Linked DNA regions of Homo sapiens: regions 1, 3 and 4 are each linked to region 2. The links are contacts of gene promoters, found by promoter capture Hi-C in human tissues and cell types (Jung and others, 2019). All regions are on one chromosome and are shown on one strand. The core of a region is centred on a gene start or on the middle of the fragment in contact, and the rest is flanking DNA. Distances in the headings are between cores, read along the strand shown.

Region 1 (4,503 bases), core at 752-3,251, 260 kb after region 2:
CTTCCAGCTCCCACCTGTGCAGGTCCCAGTCCTGGTTTGAGAAGAGACCCCCTCCTCCCGACCCTGGCCCACCCCTCCTCACCCACGAGATCCCTTGAAGCAGGAGGGGGCTTCTGGTCCCAGGGTAGAAGGAAGCTTCCAGAACTCCCACCTTTGCCAGGTGGCATGCTGGGGCCGGGCACGCCAAGACCCCAGGCTCACGGCCCCTTGTCCTGTGCTTGGGTGCAGCCGCCACACTCTGCTCCGAAAGTGCTCACCTCCGGGAGTGGCCGTCCCCCTCCCTAAAAGAGCCCCCCACCAGACGGAGCCGCCCGGGAAGCTTCTCCAGCCTGTCTGGGCTACAGAGCCTTGTGTGGCTAGAACCCAAGGCCCTCACTCCAGGGGTGCTGAGAGAGCCTGTCCAGAGGGCCTGCCTCAGCCACCACCTGGGACAGGTTCACGCCCTCCACTGAAGAGACACCCGGCCAGCCCTGGGCCTTCGACCTGGGACGTCTGTAGTGGGGTCAGGGGATGAGACCTGGAGCTCAGAACAGACGGGCTGAGCTCCCTGGAGGAGAGAGAACTGAGAACCTTGTCCTGGCAGGGACGCTAGAGCACTGGGTGGGACAGACCTTTCTGGAAGAGCAAGATTTTAACAGGAAGAAAAAGTGGAAGGACTTCCCAGCAGGACCCAGCCTGAACAAAGGTCAGGTGGTGTGGCCCGCGTGGCCCGCTGGGGAATCGGGGGAGGAGGGCACGCAGGAGACACAGGACAGAGCCCACCACGTCTCAGAGCTGTGGGACGGTGGTGGGTCCGGTCCCCACCCCACCTTGCTGGGGCACAGGTTAGCTTGCCCATCTCTGGGTTCACGGTCCCTGCCAGGAGTTTGGGTAATGCCTCACACAGGGACCTTCGGGTCCAAGGGCTGTTGGTGCTTGCCCTGCAGTTCCCTCTCCTGCACTGGGCCTGGTGAATGACACTAATTCAGAGACGTACAACACGATCTGGGCATCGCCAGCAAAGTCCAGCCAGCGTTTGATGACAGCCTACCCTCCACAAGCTCAGAGTCTGGTGAGGGAGGCTGTGGCATGAATAAGGGCAAAAACAGAGGGCAGGCCAGGTGCAGTGGCTCACGCCTGTAATCCTAGCACTTTGGGAAGCCCAGGTGGGAAGATCGCCTGAGCCCAGGAGTTCAAGACCAGCGTGGCCAACATGGCCAGACACTGTCTCTATAGATTGGAAAAAAGACAAAGCAGAGGCCAGGCCCCCAGTTCCCCACCTGTGTCAGCCTACCAGGAGGAGAAATCACTCGGCGTTCCCTGAACAGATCAGACCCCGGGTCTTTGCACAAGCTGTGCCCCCGGGCAGCGGCCCTCCCCTGCCTGCAGGATTCGTGCGTGGAGACTGATTTGCTGTCGGCCGGGGCTTCACTCTGGGCTTCTTGGATCCCATCCCCAGCTGCTCACACTCCACATCGGTCCACCTACTATGCTCCCGGCACCCTTAGGGCTGAGGTGTAGGGACTTACTCCATCCCCAGGGAACAGCGTGGGTCCGGAGAGGCGACTCCCAGGAGGGCCCCAGGGAGGTCGCAGCCCGAGCAGCTTTGGACTTTGGCCAGCGCCCCTCTGAAACTCTGCCCCGGCCCCCGCAGGGAGACTGGAGTTGGCCGAGCCCGATTTGGGACGCGTGCGTCGGGGTTGGTGAGGCTGCGGATAGCGCTGGAACCGGGCAGGTGAGAGGCCCGGGACCCAGGGCCGGGCCGGGTGGAGCGCGTGGGGGCGCGGGAGGCAGGGTGCGCCCCCGCCCCTCGGAGACCCCAGGCCGGGCCACGCGGATGCCGGCGGGGGGCGCGCAGAATCGGGGTCGCTGGGGGCAGGCCCCGGGGGACGAGCCTGAGACGGGGTGGGCCGGGGCAGGGGGCGGGCGCAGGCTGGAGACCCCCGCCCAGTCCCCGCGCGGCCGGGGCACGGCGGGAGGGGGCGCCCGCGGCCCTCCCGACGCTCGGGCGGGACAAAGGCCGGAGCCCGGGCCCCTCCCCGGCGGGTGCGGCGGCGGCGGCCCGCGCTCCGACAGTCCGCGCGGCCGGGTCCTGCGCCCGGGGCGACCCCGGCGCCCCGCCCCGCCGCCGCCTGACTTCTCGGCGCCCGAGGTCGCGCGCGCGGAGGCGGGGGCGGCCCGGGATCTCCAAGCGCCGCCGCGCCCTCCTCCCGCCCGCCCTCCGCCCGCCCGCTCGGCGGCGGCGGCGGCGGCGGAGGAGGCGGAGAAGGCTGGCAGGCGGCGGCCGGGAGAGCGAGCGCGGCGGCCGGACCGGGGCCATGGCGCCCGCGCAGCGCCCGCTGCTCCCGCTGCTGCTCCTGCTGTTACCGCTGCCGCCGCCGCCCTTCGCGCGCGCCGAGGACGCCGCCCGCGCCAACTCGGACCGCTACGCCGTCTACTGGAACCGCAGCAACCCCAGGTGAGCGCGGCCGCGCGCGGGGGGCGCCCGGGGACCCCCCAACGCCCCCCAAGCCGCGCCCGGCCTCGCGCCCCCGGAGCTCCGGGCGCCCCCCACGCGCGCGCCGCCGCCGGGATGCGGGCGCCCGGTTCCCGCGGGAGCCCCCCAGGGAGCTCCGGCCCCCCGGAGTTTGGGGGACTCGCCCTTTTCGCGCCTGCCTTCCCCGGGGCGCCCCATTGCCCTACGGACTGTGGGGACTCGCGCCCCACATCCCCCAGAGCGCCGACGTCTCCTGGAGTTTGGGGAACCCCTCTGGTACCCTCCGATGCCGGGTAGCCCCTGAGTTGCCTGCCTGGACTTGGGGGGACCCCTGATCCACCCGCTTCTCTGGGGAGCCCCCTCGGTTTCGCATTTGGTGGGGATCCCCGGGGACCTTGGCACCGGAGGTGGGGGACTGTGGCCCTCGAGGGATCTCTGGGTTCGTCCTGCCCGCAGGTCCCCAGATGAACTTGGGGAAGTTGGAGTGTCCCTCCCTCAGGACCCAGCATCTGCTTCACTCCAGGGGGCCAAGGGCCCAGCTTTGAAAGGAGACTGAGGGGCCGGGGAGCTGGGGGTCAGCCCCGGGAGGGGCAGTGGGATGGAGTCCTCTCTTGTCCTCTGGGCGCTGACCAGGAAACTGAGGTGCAGAGGGGATGAGGAGCTGGCTCAAGGTCATGCAAGGGGGGGACTTGGGGGCAGGACCCAGGTGGCCCAGTGCCCTGCCTGCCACGCCCGGCCGAGATGCCGCACCCGCCTGCTGCAGGCCCCCTTGTTTTGAACCAGGTCCGGGCCAGGCACAACGTGGGGGACAGGAGAAGCCCCCGTTGGTCAGAGCAAAAAAAGTTTGCCGGGGCCTGGCCATGGCCTGGACGTGGGTAGAACCCTCTGAACCATCCCAGGGTCTCCAAGACAGGAGCAGGCTGCAGCTTCCCTGGGGGTCCCGTGGGAGCCGGGGCTTTGGGGGTCCTGGGGCTCGGGAGGGAGTCAGCCCCAGCACTCAGGGTGTCACCGTCTTCCTAAGGCACACGGAGCTGCACATCGGGGGCTGAGGCGGCCCCCCCCCACTCTTCTGCTACTGGTCACTTTCTCTCCGTTTTCCAGCCGCTTCCTGTGCCGACCGAGCCGCCCTCTGGAGCCCGCCACCCCTCCTTGTCCCCTCTGTCTCCTGCTGTCCTCGGTCCCCGGGAGGAAAGTTGCATGAAGGGGTCTCTTTGAGGCGGGCTCGGGGACAAGGGCGGCCCGTGTTCCGCCGTGGGGGTGGGGAACACGCACAGGCCCACCCCCCACCCTGGTCAACGGCCTCGGGTCGGGCCCTGGGGGCTGAGGGCAGGGACCCCGGGCCGCTGGGGGACGGCTGGCCCACCTCAGAGCGGGTCCCCGAGCCGCCCGCTGTGCTGGTCACATGTGGGTTTGATTAAGGCTGTCGCTGGCCGTGCGGGGAGTCCAGCGGGCAGCGCTTCCCCGGCCCAAGTTTTTGGTTTCAGCTGCGGAATCTCCCGTCCCCAGCGTGGCCTGTCCTTTGTTCTAGCAAACGCCAAACACACGAGGACCCGGCAACCGGGGGAGGAAGGTGGTCACCAGGGCCGTCCTGCTGCCCCACCTGCCACAGGGCTGTGGGCTGCGGGCCGGACCCCCGGCCAGGGGAAGGAAGTGGCCTCCCCAGTGCCTGGCTTGGCCCAGCCACCTCCTGTTGCTCCGGGTCTGACCTGGTTGCCCAGCTCAAACCGCTGCCTGAGGGAACGGCCTTGCTGGTCCGCAGAGCCGACCTGGGCAGCACCGAGGCTGCCTCCTCCTTCCTCTCCTGCCTGCGGTATCCAGGGTTGCTGGGGACGGAGCCGACACCCTGCAGTGGGGCCCAGGGCTGGGTGAGCACCTTCCCGGGAAGCCGGGATCCAGCCAGAATCAGGGCTTTGTCGCGGACATCAGGGGTCTCTGCAGTTCTCAGATTTGGTGTCCAGGGGCACCTGCCCGGGACCTGTGCCTGAGTGGCGGGGGTGTCAGGCACAGCAGGGGGTGGTGCTGGGCCTCCGTATCCAAGGGGACCCTGT
Region 2 (4,615 bases), core at 2,116-4,615:
ACTGACCCACAGACCGACGGACACACAAGCCCGCGGAGCCACACTCTCCTCCCAGGTGGGACACAGAGCCCTCAGCCCCAGCCAGGAAACACTACCTGGGGCTCCCCTTTGTCCACCCGGGGTGCTTCCTGCCTCCAGGCCACCGGGGCCTCTCCTTCCACTGCAGCCTCACAGTGGCCTCAATGTGACAGGTCCCCCATTCAGAGCAGGGCCCCTGGGGTCTCACATACCCCGTCTTTAATCGTCACGACCCCACAAGAGGAGCCCCATTACTCCCTGTGGCTAGGCGCGGGCCCCTGCCCATGTCCAGGGGTGCTGAGTCGAGACCCCTTCACCCTGTGGGCATCCACTTGGTGGTCACCTGGGTCCAGAGCCCAACCGCACAGGTGCAGGCACCCAGTGCCCCAAGATGGACAGTCTCTGCCACACTGGGCTCAGGGCCATGAAGGCCAGCAGAGGTGGATACTGAGGCTGGATGGAGGTCTCCCGAGGGCCCCTGGAACACAGGCCCCTGCCGCCTCCTCTCTCCCCAGCACCTGGCACTGCCTGGCATTTCCTAAAGCCACCCAGGCATGGATGAGGGACCGGGGGGCTCCATGCTGGCTCAGAGCTGGGAGATCCTGGCATTTCCTAAAGCCACCCAGGCATGGGTGAGAGCTGGGGGACTCCATGCCAGCTCAGGGCTGGGAGCTCAGCTGCACAGATGCCACAGGATGAAGCCACCTTGAAGGGATCATACCAGGGAGGACCTGGCTCTCTGCAGGGAGACCCCCGGAAGCCAGGCAGGCAGGAAGCAGAGGAGCCTTCTGGAACTCAAGGCAGCCTCTGAAATCAGGCAGTTCCAGCCTGCACTTTGCAGATAAGTAAAAGTGAAGGCAGCAGGGTCAGATTCTGTGCCACCAGATTACCGGGTGGAAAATTCACAAAGAACAGATTTCCCCACCCAGGCCAGGCATGGTGGCTCACGCCTGTAATCCCAGCCTTTTGGGAGGCCGAGGCGGGCAGATCACCTGAAATCAGCAGTTTGAGACCAGCCTAGCCAACATGGCAAAACCCAGTCTCTACTAAAAAGACAAAAAAATTAGCCGGTTGTGATGGTGGGCACCGGTAATCCTAGCTACTCCGCAGGCTGAGGCAGAAGAATTGCTTGAACCCAGGAGGTGGAGTTTGCAGTGAGCCGAGATCAAACCACTGCACTCCAGCCTGGGTGACAGAGCAAGACTCCATCTCAAAAAAAAAAAAAAAAAAATTCACCACCCAGAGATCTCACAGTCCAAAGCCCTCTGCTGAGAGAGGAGGGATTGGGGTTACTGAGAACCTCCCAAGAGTCTCCACCCTACACAGAAGACGGGGAACTCCAGCTCTGGCCCAGCCCCATCTGACCACCTGTGAGTGGTATTGGCCTGGAGATGGAGCCGGGTAGGCTTGATCCCTTTCCAAACCGGGACATGGTGGGACCAGGGCCCAGGCGACAGGGATGCACCTCCCAAGGAGGCTGAGCTCCGTCGGGGGAACCTGGCCTGGCACCCAGCACACACCCTCCACAAGCCTAAGGACACAGTGGCTCCATCCTGTTCCCAGGCTACTCCATGGAAGGAAAACCCACGTCCACAGACCAGCCTCCGTCCACAGTTTCAGGCCCCGTCTGTGGACCCCAGAGCCGGGAAAGGCCGCCTGCCTGCGTAACCCTTCACAGCCCTGCTCAGGTGCCTACTGAGGCGACCATGCCACTCTGGGGGGCTGCAGGGAGGAAGGTGGGAAGGATGATGGGCTGAGCTCTGGCCTGGGGAGGCACGGATCTGGAGGCTGGGGGGCCTTCCGTGAAGTGGCAGCAGGCTGGGACCCACACCCAGGTCCGCAGGACGGCCAAGGTCCAGCTCCACTTGCCGAGCCCAAAAAAGCAGCCAGCTCCTGACCAACCTGTGTCAGGCTGGGAACTTGCCCACGATCGCAGCCTGGCCCGCCAGCATCGGACCCCTCTTTGCAGGCTAGATCCAAAAAGCTCACGGCGCAACTTCAGCAGCCCCCAAGCCCCGGCGCGGCGGTGTTCTGATGCAGAACGAAAACGGCCACGTCCCCATTTCGCCAGGTGGCCCAGGACCCCGGCCAGCTTGTTTTCTGAGGGGCTGCAGCTGCTACTGAGCCCCTCTTGTCACCCAAGCAAGACTCCTTCTCAGAGGGAGTCAGGCCGATGCCTGTCCTGCACGGCTGAGACCTCTGCCATCTGAGGAGGGCGGGAGGGGGACAGAGCCCAAGACGCGGAGGCCGGTGCCTCATAGGGGAGGCACGGGCGACAGACCCACAACCTGAGCTCCTGAAGCAGGAAGGGAGTGGGGACCCAGCGGAGGAAGAGGCCGGGGATGGGGTGGTACGCTGCTGCCGGTGACTTTGCCGCTAACCCTAGCGAGGTGACCTCAGCTAAGTCACATTCCCCTGAGGCTCAGGAGCGGGGAACGCAGCTGAAAGGCTACAAGGAGGGAGAGAGGGGAGTGGGGAGTCGACTTCCAGGACAGGGGTTGGTCCGAGGGAGACCTGCGTCAGGCTGGGTTCTGGGCCAGCACATTGGGAGGGGAGAGAGGCCTCGGAACTGAGGGTCTCAGGCGGCACAGTCAGGGGTCAAAGGGCGGGAGGTGCTACCTCGCAGGCCAGGACCGGACTCCAAGCCTGGGTAGGTGGGGACCTGGGAAAGGCGGTCGCCGGGGACAGGATGGGCCCTGGAGGGAGCTGACAGTGAGGTTTCCAGAGTAGAGAACAGCGGCTTCTAGTGCAGCGGGATCCGGCCTTCCCGGGTGGACGTCCCCGGGCGGGATGGGGTCACGAGACGGTGTCCCTGGCCAATCCCAGGGTCAGAGGTCGCGAGGGAGAGCCCTAATCGGTAGGGCCGGGTATAGGCCTCAGGGTGCAGGGTGGCGCTCGCTGTCCCCAGCGGGGCCAGGGGTCGCGGTCGGAGGTAGCAGACTTGGGGGTCGGGACAGCCGCTGGGGTCAAGGGTCGGGGGTCGGGGCCGCGGTCACCTTGAGCAGCACGAAGAACTCGAAGAGACGGCGGAAGGCGGGCGGGAAGAGCCGCGAATAGGTGACAGCCATCTTGAAGAACAGCGCGTGGAAGAGCCGGTCGCGCACGTTGATGAGGGGGTTGGGGTTGAGATTGGGGGTGCGAGGCCCGCGCGCGGGGGCCGGGCCGCCGCCGCCGCCGTTGGGCCCGGGCCCCGGAGCTGCGGGCTCCACGTGCTCCGACATGCCTCCCAGCGTCGCGCCCTAACGACCCGCAAGTGTCCGAGGGCGCCTCCCGGCCGCCATCGGCCGCCCTCGCAGCCGCCGCTCTCCTCACGGCCTCCCGGCCGCCGCCGCCATCTTCCGCTTTCTCGTCCGGCTGCGGCGCTGCTGACGCTAGCGAGTCGCCACGCCGGGCAAGAGCGGCCCCCCTGCGCCCGCAGAGAACGCTGGGATGCCAGCGGCGCCCGCGGAGGCCTCACCCCCTACCTCGGCCGCTCCAGGGGGCGGGCCTGCATCTGGGCCACCTCTTTTGCATATTGGCACCCACAATCCACCGCGGCTATGAGGCCAGTATAAGGCGGTAAAATTACGATAAGATATGGGATTTTACGTGATCGAAGACATCAAAGTAAGCGTAAGCACGAAAGTTGTTCTGCAACATACCACTGTAGGAAATTATGCTAAATATGAAACCGACCATAAGTTATCCTAACCAAAAGATGATTTGATTGAAGGGCTTAAAATAGGTGTGACAGTAACCCTTGAGTCGTGCTCGCTTCGGCAGCACATATACTAAAATTGGAACGATACAGAGAAGATTAGCATGGCCCCTGCGCAAGGATGACACGCAAATTCGTGAAGCGTTCCATATTTTTGCTGTAGTCTACAGCTCGTCACCTCGTTTGGCTTCTCTTGCCCGGATCCTGCCATGACGTCACAGGGCCAGTAACGTCATAGTCTTCCCGTGTCCATCTCCTGTGGCGCCACTAAGGTTGGCGGTAGAACAATCTGGCAGTCTCTACTCCTGCGTGGCGCTGTGCCACCTGCCCCCGTAGCTTCGCGCAGCAATGAATAAATAAGTGCTCTTCAGGGGCACTTACTGAGTGCCGGCTGCGTACACAAGAGGATACTATGGTTTTTGGGTTTTTTGGTTGTTTGTTTGAGATGGATTCTCGCTCTGTCGCCCAGGCTGGAGCGCAGAAGCGCGATCTCGGCTCTCTGCAACCCCCGCCTCCCGGGTTCAAGCCATTCTCCTGCCTCAGCCTCCCAAGTAGCTGGGATTACAGGCATGCGCCACCACTCCAGGCTAATTTTATATTTTTAGTAGAGACGGTTTCTCCATGTTGGTCAGGCTGGTCTCGAACTCCTAACTTTAGGTGATTTGCCCGCCTAGGCCTCCCAAAGTGCTGGGATTACAGGTGTGACCCACCAAGCCCGCCAAAAAAAAGTTTTGTGTTGTTTTTTTTTTTTGAGACGCAGTCTCACTCTGTCGCCCAGGCTGGAGTGCAGTGGCGTGATCTCGGCTCACTGCAACCTCCGCCTCTTGGGTTCAAGCAATTCTCTGCCTCAGCCTCCTGAATAGCTGGGATTGCAGGCTTCCGCCACCACACCCGGCTATT
Region 3 (4,427 bases), core at 870-3,369, 330 kb before region 2:
TCCTCCCACAGCAGCCTTTCAAGTAGCTGGGACCACAGAAGCACAGCTCCGGTGCGGAGGACTCTGCGGGGAGGAGGGGGTGGGTGAGATGGGGGTGACGGCTGCCCGTCTGGGCCTCAGTCCACTCATCTATGAAATGGAGGCCCAGTAATCCATTTAATGCTCACGCCGGCCCCGTGATAATATTAGGTTGGTGCAAAAGTAATTGCACGAAAAAAATTAAATGGCAAAAACCACAATTAACTTTTTTTTTTCCGACAGAATCTCACTCTTTCCCCTAGGCTGGAGTGCAGTGGTGCCATCTCGGCTCACTGCCACCTCCACCTCCTGGGTTCAAGTGATTCTCCTACCTCAGCCTCCCGAGTAGCTGGGGATACGTACAGCCACTTGCTACCATGCCCAACTAATTTTCGTATTTTTTTTTTGAGACAGAGTCTCGCTCTGTCCCCCAGGCTGGAGTGCAGTGGCGCGATCTCGGCTCACTGAAAGCGCCGCCTCCCGGGTTCACGCCATTCTCCTGCCTCAGCCTCCTGGGTAGCTGGGACTACAGGCGCCTGCCACCACATCCGGCTAATTTTTTTGTATTTTTAGTAGAGATGGGGTTTCACTGTATTAGCCAGGATGGTCTCGATCTCCTGACCTCGTGATCCTCCTGCCTCGGCCTCCCAAAGTGCTGGGATTACAGGCATGAGCCACCGCACCCAGCCTAATTTTCGTATTTTTAGTAGAGACAGAGTTTCACCATGTTGGCCAGGCTGGTCTCATACTCCTGACCTCAAACAATCCACCGTGTCCCAACGTGAGGGGGACTGCAGGCTGGCGGGGGAGCTGGGGACACTGCAGCCCAGGACCAACCTATCCCGTGCCTGGTGGGGGCTCCTGCAGGAGGGGACCCACCCACCCTGGCCCCAATATACATTTTAATAGTTATTATAACAATATGTTTAAAACGAGGCAGGGCATGGCGGCTCACACCTGCAATCCCAGCACTTTGGGAGGCAGAGGCGGGTGGATCATTTGAAGTCAGGAGTTCGAGACCAGCCTGGCCAACATGGTGAAATCCAGTCTCTACTAAAAATGCAAAAATTAGCCAGGTGTGGTGGTGGGCGCCTGTGATCCCAGCTACTCGGGAAGCTGAGGCAGGAGAATCGCTTGAGCCCGGGAGGTGGAGGTTGCAGTGAGCCGAGATTGCACCGTTGCACTCCAGCCTGGGGAACCGAGACTGCCTCAAAAAAAAAAAAGAACATAGTGACAGTTACAGTAACAGAATATGTACTTGTTGCGCCTGTTGCTTCTTCTGTGCTTCTTTTGCCTCCCTGCCTTATCCTCCTGTTTTCCCTTTGTTGCCCTTTAAATCCAGCCCCTGCTGAGACTCCCCCTCCTGCAGGAGCCACGGCGCCCCCAGCTCCCCCACCAGCCTGGAGTCCCCCTCATGTCGGGATACGGTGTCCAGAAAGAAGGGGCCCGACAGGTGAGCTCACCTGTGGCTGAAGCAGTGGGCGGCCGAGACCACCCAGCGGGCTCGCAGCAGGAAGCCTCCGCAGTGATGTTGGCCCCCGAAGCGCACGGATGCCATGTAGGGCCTGGAGTGGGGGGTCACCTCGTGGCCCCCGATGATCTGGGCCCCCCAGGAGCCTGCTGGAGGGACGGCCTGAGTCAGGGACGAGGCGGGAGGAACGGATGACGGGGCTGGGGTCAGGGCAGGGGGAGAAGTAGCGGCCAAGACAGAGACAGGGGGTGAGATTAGAGACGGAGAGACCCAGAGAGCTGGAGACAGAGCCCAGACAAGCCCCCCAGATGCGCTGGGAGGGGCTCCCGAGCCCGGGAGATCCAGGGCTGGGCTGGGCAGAGACCCCGGCCGGATTTCCATCCATTTCCAGCAGAGGCAGCCACGGGGGCTCGGCAGATGGAGCAGGTGGAGCTCTCCCCAGGGTTCTCCCGGGACTGGGGGTTCCCGGGTGTGGCCCCCGTACGGGGACTTGGCGGGGGCCTGGGTGGGGATCCCGGGGGGCTCCTCACCGGGGGGCTTCACGGGCAGCATCAGGGCGGTGGCCACAGTCAGCAGAGGACGTCCCCAGCCCCTCAACCCGAGCCCCATGGCAGACGCAGGCTGGCGTCTCCCCGCAGAGGTCTTCGGGCCGTGGCTCCCACCCTCAGCCAACGGCCGGAAAGGGGGAGCCTGGCTGTGGCCTGTGGTCGGGAGGCCCCACCAGCAACGCCTGGAGCCCAGGCGGGCGTTTCTGAGAAATCGATGGTCTCAGGTGGTGGCTGGTAATAATCATGTTGATAATAATCATTGTCCCCTAGTCCGGAAACAGGGAGAGGAGGAGACAGCTCTGGGGCTGCAAGTGACCTCGGGAAGGCAATTGACCCTTCTGTGCCTCAGTTTACCCAGCCTCCACGTGGCCCAGCATGTGTGGGGAGCTTTCCGAGGAACCGAGGTCACAGCGGCACTCGAGACCCGCAGCTCGCCTCCGGCCCCCACCCCGCAAACCCCAGTCTTCCCATCTCCAAACCCAGGGCCGACCTCAGGGCTGTGGGGACAGCGAGGAAGGCCGGTCTCCTGGGAAGCTCTGATGATTTCTGCCTTTATTTTATTTTATTTTTATAGGTGGGGTTTTGCTATGTTGCCCAGGCTGGTCTCGAACTCCTGGGCTCCAGCGATCCTCCCTCCTCGGCCTTCCAAAGTGCTGAGATCACAGAAGACAGCCACTGCACCTGGCAGATTTCTGCCTTTATTCAGCAGTTATTGAGTGCCTAGTGTATACCAGACCTCATGCTAGGAGGTGAGGATGAGGCAGTGACCGCACCCCAGCCTGTAGCACTGACGTTCTGTGGGATCCGGAGTCCAGTGGGACATGGCTGTACATGGGGGTCTTCACCTTTTTTTTCTTTTCTTTTTTTTTTTGAGATGGAGTCTTGCTCTTGTTGCCCAGGCTAGAGTGGAATGGCACCATCTCGGCTCACCGCAACCTCTACCTCCCGGGTTCGAGTGATTCTCGTTCCTCAGCCTCCCGAGTAACTGGAACTACAGGCGCCCGCCACCACAGCCGGCTAATTTTGTTTCTGTATTTTTAGTAGAGACGGGGTTTCACCATATTAGCCAGGATGGTCTCGATCTCCTGACCTCATGATCCGCCCGCCTCGGCCTCCCAAAGTGCTGGGATTACAGGCATGAGCCACGGTGCCCGGCCTTTTTTTTTTTTTTTTTTTTTTTGAGAAGGAATCTTGCTCTTGTTGCCCAGGCTAGAGTGCAGTGGCGCGATCTTGGCTCACCGCAACCTCTGTCTCCTGAGTTCAAGGGATTCTCCTTCCTCAGCCTCCTGAGTAACTGGGATTACAGGTGCCCACCACCACGCCCCGCTAAATTTGTGTGTTTAGTAGAGACGGAGTTTCTCCATGTTGGTCAGGCTGGTCTCGAACTCCCGACCTCAGGTGATCCACCTGCCTCAGCCTCCCAAAGTGCTGGGATGACAGGCCTGAGCCACCGCGCCCAGCCCGGCAGGTCTTCACCTTTCAGTGGGAGCGTTCTTAGTGGCAAAGTTCAGGTCGTAAATTGCAGCTCACACAGCCGGGTGATGGCGTTCACGGCAGTGGCTAGCAGTGGGGTGCTCGTCAGCGCTTAATAATGAACAGGCTGGGGCCGGGTGCAGTGGCTCACGCCTATAATCCTAGCACTTTGGGAGGCCGAGGCAGGTGGATCACCTGAGGTCAGGAGTTCAAGACCAGCCTGGCCAACATAGTGAAACCCCGTCTCTACTTAAAGTACCAAAATTAGTCAGGCGTGGTGGCAGGTGCCTGTAATCCCAGCTACTTGGGAGGCTGAGGCAGGAGAATCGCTTGAACCGGGAGGTGGAGGTGGCAGTGAGCCAAGATTGCACCATTGCACTCCAGCCTGGGTGACAGAGCGAGACACCATCTCAAAAAAAAAAAAAAAAAAAAAGTCATCATTGAACGCTCCAGACCTGTGTTTTACCAAATGTAAAGTGTTCTCAATAAAGAATGAAGTGAAATGAAGCAACAGGAAATGCGTGGAAAGGAAGGTATGAAAAGGCCCCACAACGAACTCGGGCTCTGCGAGATGCGGGCGGCCTCTGGAAGCTAAAAAACGGCAGGAAACGAATTTTCTCCTGGAGCCTCCGGGAAAAGCCAGCCCTACCGATGCCCTGACGTTAGCCCAGAAGGGCCTGCAGGGGCTTCTGACCTCCAGCACTGCCAGAGAATAAATTGGTGCCATTTCGTTTATTATTATTATTATTATATTTTCTTGAGATGGAGTCTCGCTCTTTCGCCTAGGCCAGACTGCAGTGGTGCGATCTCGGCTCACTGCAAGCTCCGCCTCCTGGGTTCATGCCATTCTCCTTCCTCAGCCTCCCAAGTAGCTGGGACTACAGGTGCCCGCCACCACGCCCGGCTGATATTTTGTA
Region 4 (4,188 bases), core at 1,453-3,952, 340 kb before region 2:
GTGAAAGCCCTCAACTCAGTCCCATCTGCAGAGCCCCTTTGGCCAGGGAGGGTGGGACACCCACGGGTTCTAGGGATGAGGGCCCCATGGTCTCTGGGACCGCCGTTCTGCTGACCACCCCCCACTGCTCTCCCCCTCACTCACAGCACAAGCGTCTGTTTCCAGCGCACACCCCTGCCGCTCCGTCTGACGTTCGAGTCTCAACCTCAACGTCTCTTTCCTCTGGGAAGCCTTCCTCAGTCTCCCCCAGGCCCGGGTCAGGCCTGGGGCACCTTTGCCATCTGGGCATCCTCCGCCACAGAACAACACTGGATTGTCACTGTCTGTTTACCTGTCAGGATGTACCTGGAGGGAGACAGAAGCCTGGGGGGTGAGCAGAGGCCACGAGGAGCCACGGTGGGTGTCTGAGCCAGGGAGAAGTGTTATGGCAGCTGGGGTAGGAAGTGGGCCGCAGGGGCCAGGCTGCGGGCTGGAAGTCCTAGGATGAGCCTCGGGCCTGGATAGGGTGGGGAGAGGGGCAGAGCCGGGAGAGGGGAGGTCATCACTGGGGTCTCAGGAGGAGGCGGCGCTCTGGAAAGGGTCAGTGACCTGTTAGAGGTCACCCTGCACAGAGCCTCTGGGTTAGGGAAGACAGAGCCGGGAGCAGGAGGCCACTGGCAGCTGGCCTCGGTTTCCCCGGAGAGGGCCGGAACCCACGCCAGCCAGACAATGACCCTTTGATTCGCACAGCCCAGGCCGGAGTGGCCAAGCCACGGCGGGGTCAGGTCTTGGCCAAGGTCACACTGTCCAGCCCCCGCACATCCTCAGTGAGAACACAGGGTCCCATCCCTGCCCCACTCCCCAATCCCGGGAGAGTCCCGGGGGAATGCCAGAGGCCAAGGCCAGGTCGAGACGGCGGGGTGTCCCCCGTCAGTGAGAACACAGGGTCCTGTGCCTGCCCCACTCCCCAAGCCGGGGAGATTCCCGGGGGAAATGCCAGAGGCCAAGGCCAGGTCGAGACGGCGGGGTGTCCCCCCTCAGTGAGAACACAGGGTCCCGTCCCTGCCCTGCTCCCCAAGCCGGGGAGATTCCCGGGGGAAATGCCAGAGGCCAAGGCCAGGTCGAGACGGCGGGGTGTCCCCCCTCAGTGAGAATACAGGGTCCCGTCCCTGCCCTGCTCCCCAAGCCGGGGAGATTCCCGGGGGAAATGCCAGAGGCCAAGGCCAGGTCAAGACGGCGGGGTGTCCCCCCTCAGTGCCACTAAGGCAGAACTTGGCCCCTGGCCACTGGCTGCTGGGGGACACAGGCTGGGCAGCTAAGGTGGAGGAAAGGGTACAGGTGTGTCTTCTGTGGGCACAGATCTCACTCAGGCCAGAGAAGGGGCTGTGCCGTGGGGCTGCTGGACACGTCCGTTTCCACCTGCGGGGTGGGCAATGCCGGCACAGCGAGTGGCCAGACACAGGCATGCCCAGCAGACACCCAACCGCTCTCCACCACCTCAACCTTCTGTATTTTCCTGAAAGCATTTACCACTCCTTGAAGTTATAGATTAATTTGTCTCTGCATTTTGTTGTCCAAACCAGGAGCTCGGTGAGGGTGTGATGGGGTCTGCCTTGGTCACCGTGGCACCCCAGCACCCCGCAGGGTCCCTCTGGCCAAAAGAGATGTTCACTGATGCCCTAGAAGCAGGAACAGAGGGGCTCCCCTGCGCTCGCCAAGGGCGCCTGACAAATCTGGAGGCCCCCATGACAGAATCAGCTCCAGAGTAGGAAATGTGTCTGGCTGCACGAAAGCCCCCTCGGGCGCAGCGCCTCCAGGCCCACGCAGATGTCGCTGTCATACATTGTTGGAAACGCCTCTGCTGGAAACAGTGTTTGCTGAATCTTGGAGGGAGAGGAAAAAACCTAGTAAACATTCTTGTTGAGGTGATCTGGGGGAATGTCTGCAAAGGCTTGGAGGGCTGATGGGGCAGAGCTGCCCAGGGGCCCAGGACAAAGGCCAGGCGTGCGCGCGCACACACACACACACACACACACACACACGCAGTGGCCTCCCTGGGGGCCGTGGCTGGGCGAGGCCTGCTGTTGTCCGAGATGCTGGAAGGAGCTGTGTCTCTGGGTCTGTCCCGGCCGCACCCCGTTCTGTCCCACACCCAACCACTCCCCACCCACAGGCCGGCTCCAGCGGCCAGGTGGACGGGTGCGCGGCCCGCGCTGTGAGCAGGGAACCATATCCAGCTGAGGTTTTGGGTGTGTGGGGCGGGTCGGGAACAAGGAGGCCGGGTTGGGGGGCTCAGACCACACTTGGACCATGAAAGTGACCACATGCAAATCACAGAAACGGGATGCAGGGATCCACAGACGTGCTCCTCTTGGGTCCCCGTTACCTCACCGCCACCCCTGAAACTGAAGACCCCCAAACCCACTTTAATTCCTGGAGACGGCCCCTCGATCCACCCAAAAGGCTGCCACCACCTCGAACCCACACCCCTGTCCCGGTTCCGCCCTGGGTCCAGCCACATCTCCCCAAATGCATTCTCTGGCTCCGGAAGGGGACCCGGGCGCTCGCCCCCAACTGCCCCCCGCAGCGGCCGGGCCCGGCGCCTGCCCACCCCGCGCGGGACACGGCCTCGCCCCCGCCACTCCCGCGCCGCGCCCCGCCCCGCGCCCCGCCCCGCCCGCGGCCCGCGGGACCTTTATAGGGAGCGCCGGCCGCGCGCTGGGAAGTCGGTGCCGCTGCCGTCTCTGCGTTCGCCATGCGTCCCGGGGCGCCAGGGCCACTCTGGCCTCTGCCCTGGGGGGCCCTGGCTTGGGCCGTGGGCTTCGTGAGCTCCATGGGCTCGGGGAACCCCGCGCCCGGTGAGTGGGGCGGCCAGAGGGGCGGGCGGGGCGGGCCACCCACGTGGGGCTGCGCGGAATGCGGCCGGGGGGACGTCGGGGGGCGCGGCGGCGGCGGCGGGGGCGAGGGCGGTGTCCGGCGCAAGCTGGAGCCGGGAAGGTCTGAAGGAGGGTCACCAAGAGGTCAGCAGAGCAGAGGTTTCTAATCACAATGACCGCTGACATTTATTGAGCGCTTAGTGTCTACCTCTCCCCTCCCTGAACCTGTGCCATCCCGATAGTGCCGGAGCTCTCTTCATCTCCGTCTTCCAGATGGGGAAACTGAGGCTCAGGGTCACACAGCCTGTAGCAGGCAAAGCCAGGGTTCTAGCCGCGACCGTCCGGGTCGGTCCTGGTGCCGAGAGGTAGTGCTGGGTGTCGGGAGCCAGGCCCTCCAGCTGGGGCTGAGAGCTTTCCCGGGTCCTGGGTAGACGGGGCATGGAGTCTCACACCTGGGACTTGCCGGGAGGTGCCAGGCAGGAGACGGCCCCACTCCTGGCCTCAGTTTCCCCTCCTATGATGGGTGCCAAGGTGCTGCGTTCCACAAGCTGGTCCCTGGCAGTGTCTGTGAACCAGCAAGCGCTCTGGGATGGGGGCTGTGGCCGTTCCTGCCCCCAGGGACGGGGGAAGAAATGGGGGGCTCTCTGGCTCCCCACCCCCCATCCCTGCAGCCCCACCCCACCCCAGCCCTGCGCCAAAGGGAGAGCAGAGCCCCCTCCCCGAAGGCCACGTCCCTGGGGAGACAGTGAGCTCATGCAAGGGGAATGTTCCCAAGTTGGAGTGAGTAAGAGGCGGGCCAGGCGGTGGGGGGGCTGCCAGGCGCGGGGCTCCGCGTGCCCTCGCCCTCGGGTGCTGTCTAGACAGAGGGCAGAGGCGGGAGAAGCGGCTCCAGGGCCTGCTGACCCTGACATGCCCAGTGCCTGGTGTTTGGTGGTGTTTGAGGGGTTGGGCAGGGTGCCAGCCCCTGGCCTGGGGGCTTGGAGGGTACGGGAAGGGACCTCCTGGGGTGGGTGGGGGTTGGTGGTGAGGCTGTGGGGGGGGGCACGTGGAGCTCAGAGGGGAGGAGACATTTCCAGGGTTCTGGAGCCAGGGTGGGGACACCCATGTGGTTTTCTGCCCCTTCTTCCTGGGTGGGGGTAGATCATTCCGTGCGTAACTACTCAGCACCACCTGCATGCATCTGTGGGCGGGCCAGAAGCTGGGTGTCAGGAGTGGCCCAGGAGAGCACCCCGTTCCCCGGCCCGCAGGTGGTGTTTGCTGGCTCCAGCAGGGCCAGGAGGCCACCTGCAGCCTGGTGCTCCAGACTGATGTCACCCGGGCCGAGTGCTGTGCC

What was found. The method cuts DNA at HindIII sites, captures the fragments that hold promoters and counts their contacts. A contact is called where the count stands out against the background at its distance.
Region 1: the fragment with the promoter of EFNA2 here is called in contact with the fragment with the promoter of TMEM259 in region 2 in 1 of the 25 tissues and cell types used here (spleen).
Region 3: a contact is called between the fragment with the promoter of PRSS57 here and the fragment with the promoter of TMEM259 in region 2, in 1 of the 25 tissues and cell types used here (dorsolateral prefrontal cortex).
Region 4: a contact is called between the fragment with the promoter of FSTL3 here and the fragment with the promoter of TMEM259 in region 2, in 1 of the 25 tissues and cell types used here (hippocampus).

What each region holds. Positions count from the first base shown.
Region 1 is chr19:1,283,872-1,288,374 of GRCh38, forward strand. It overlaps EFNA2 (ephrin A2), which reads left to right and starts at 2,002. Exons shown (of 4, transcript NM_001405.4): 1 at 2,002-2,437. The coding sequence starts at 2,298. RefSeq lists enhancers at 1,086-1,586, 1,587-2,087, 4,092-4,503. The HindIII fragment of the contact is 32,397 bases long and covers 1-4,503 here.
Region 2 is chr19:1,017,758-1,022,372 of GRCh38, forward strand. TMEM259 (transmembrane protein 259) reads right to left here and starts at 3,366. Exons shown (of 11, transcript NM_001033026.2): 1 at 3,015-3,366. The coding sequence starts at 3,239. RNU6-2 (RNA, U6 small nuclear 2) reads left to right here and starts at 3,765; the gene lies at 3,765-3,871. RefSeq lists silencers at 650-869, 3,128-3,187, 3,218-3,287, 3,448-3,557 and an enhancer at 1,253-1,852. The HindIII fragment of the contact is 9,371 bases long and covers 2,467-4,615 here.
Region 3 is chr19:693,333-697,759 of GRCh38, forward strand. PRSS57 (serine protease 57) reads right to left here and starts at 2,120. Exons shown (of 5, transcript NM_001308209.2): 1 at 2,020-2,120; 2 at 1,482-1,635. The coding sequence starts at 2,098. The HindIII fragment of the contact is 19,970 bases long and covers 1-4,427 here.
Region 4 is chr19:673,690-677,877 of GRCh38, forward strand. FSTL3 (follistatin like 3) reads left to right here and starts at 2,703. Exons shown (of 5, transcript NM_005860.3): 1 at 2,703-2,837; 2 at 4,103-4,188. The coding sequence starts at 2,735. The HindIII fragment of the contact is 14,894 bases long and covers 1-4,188 here.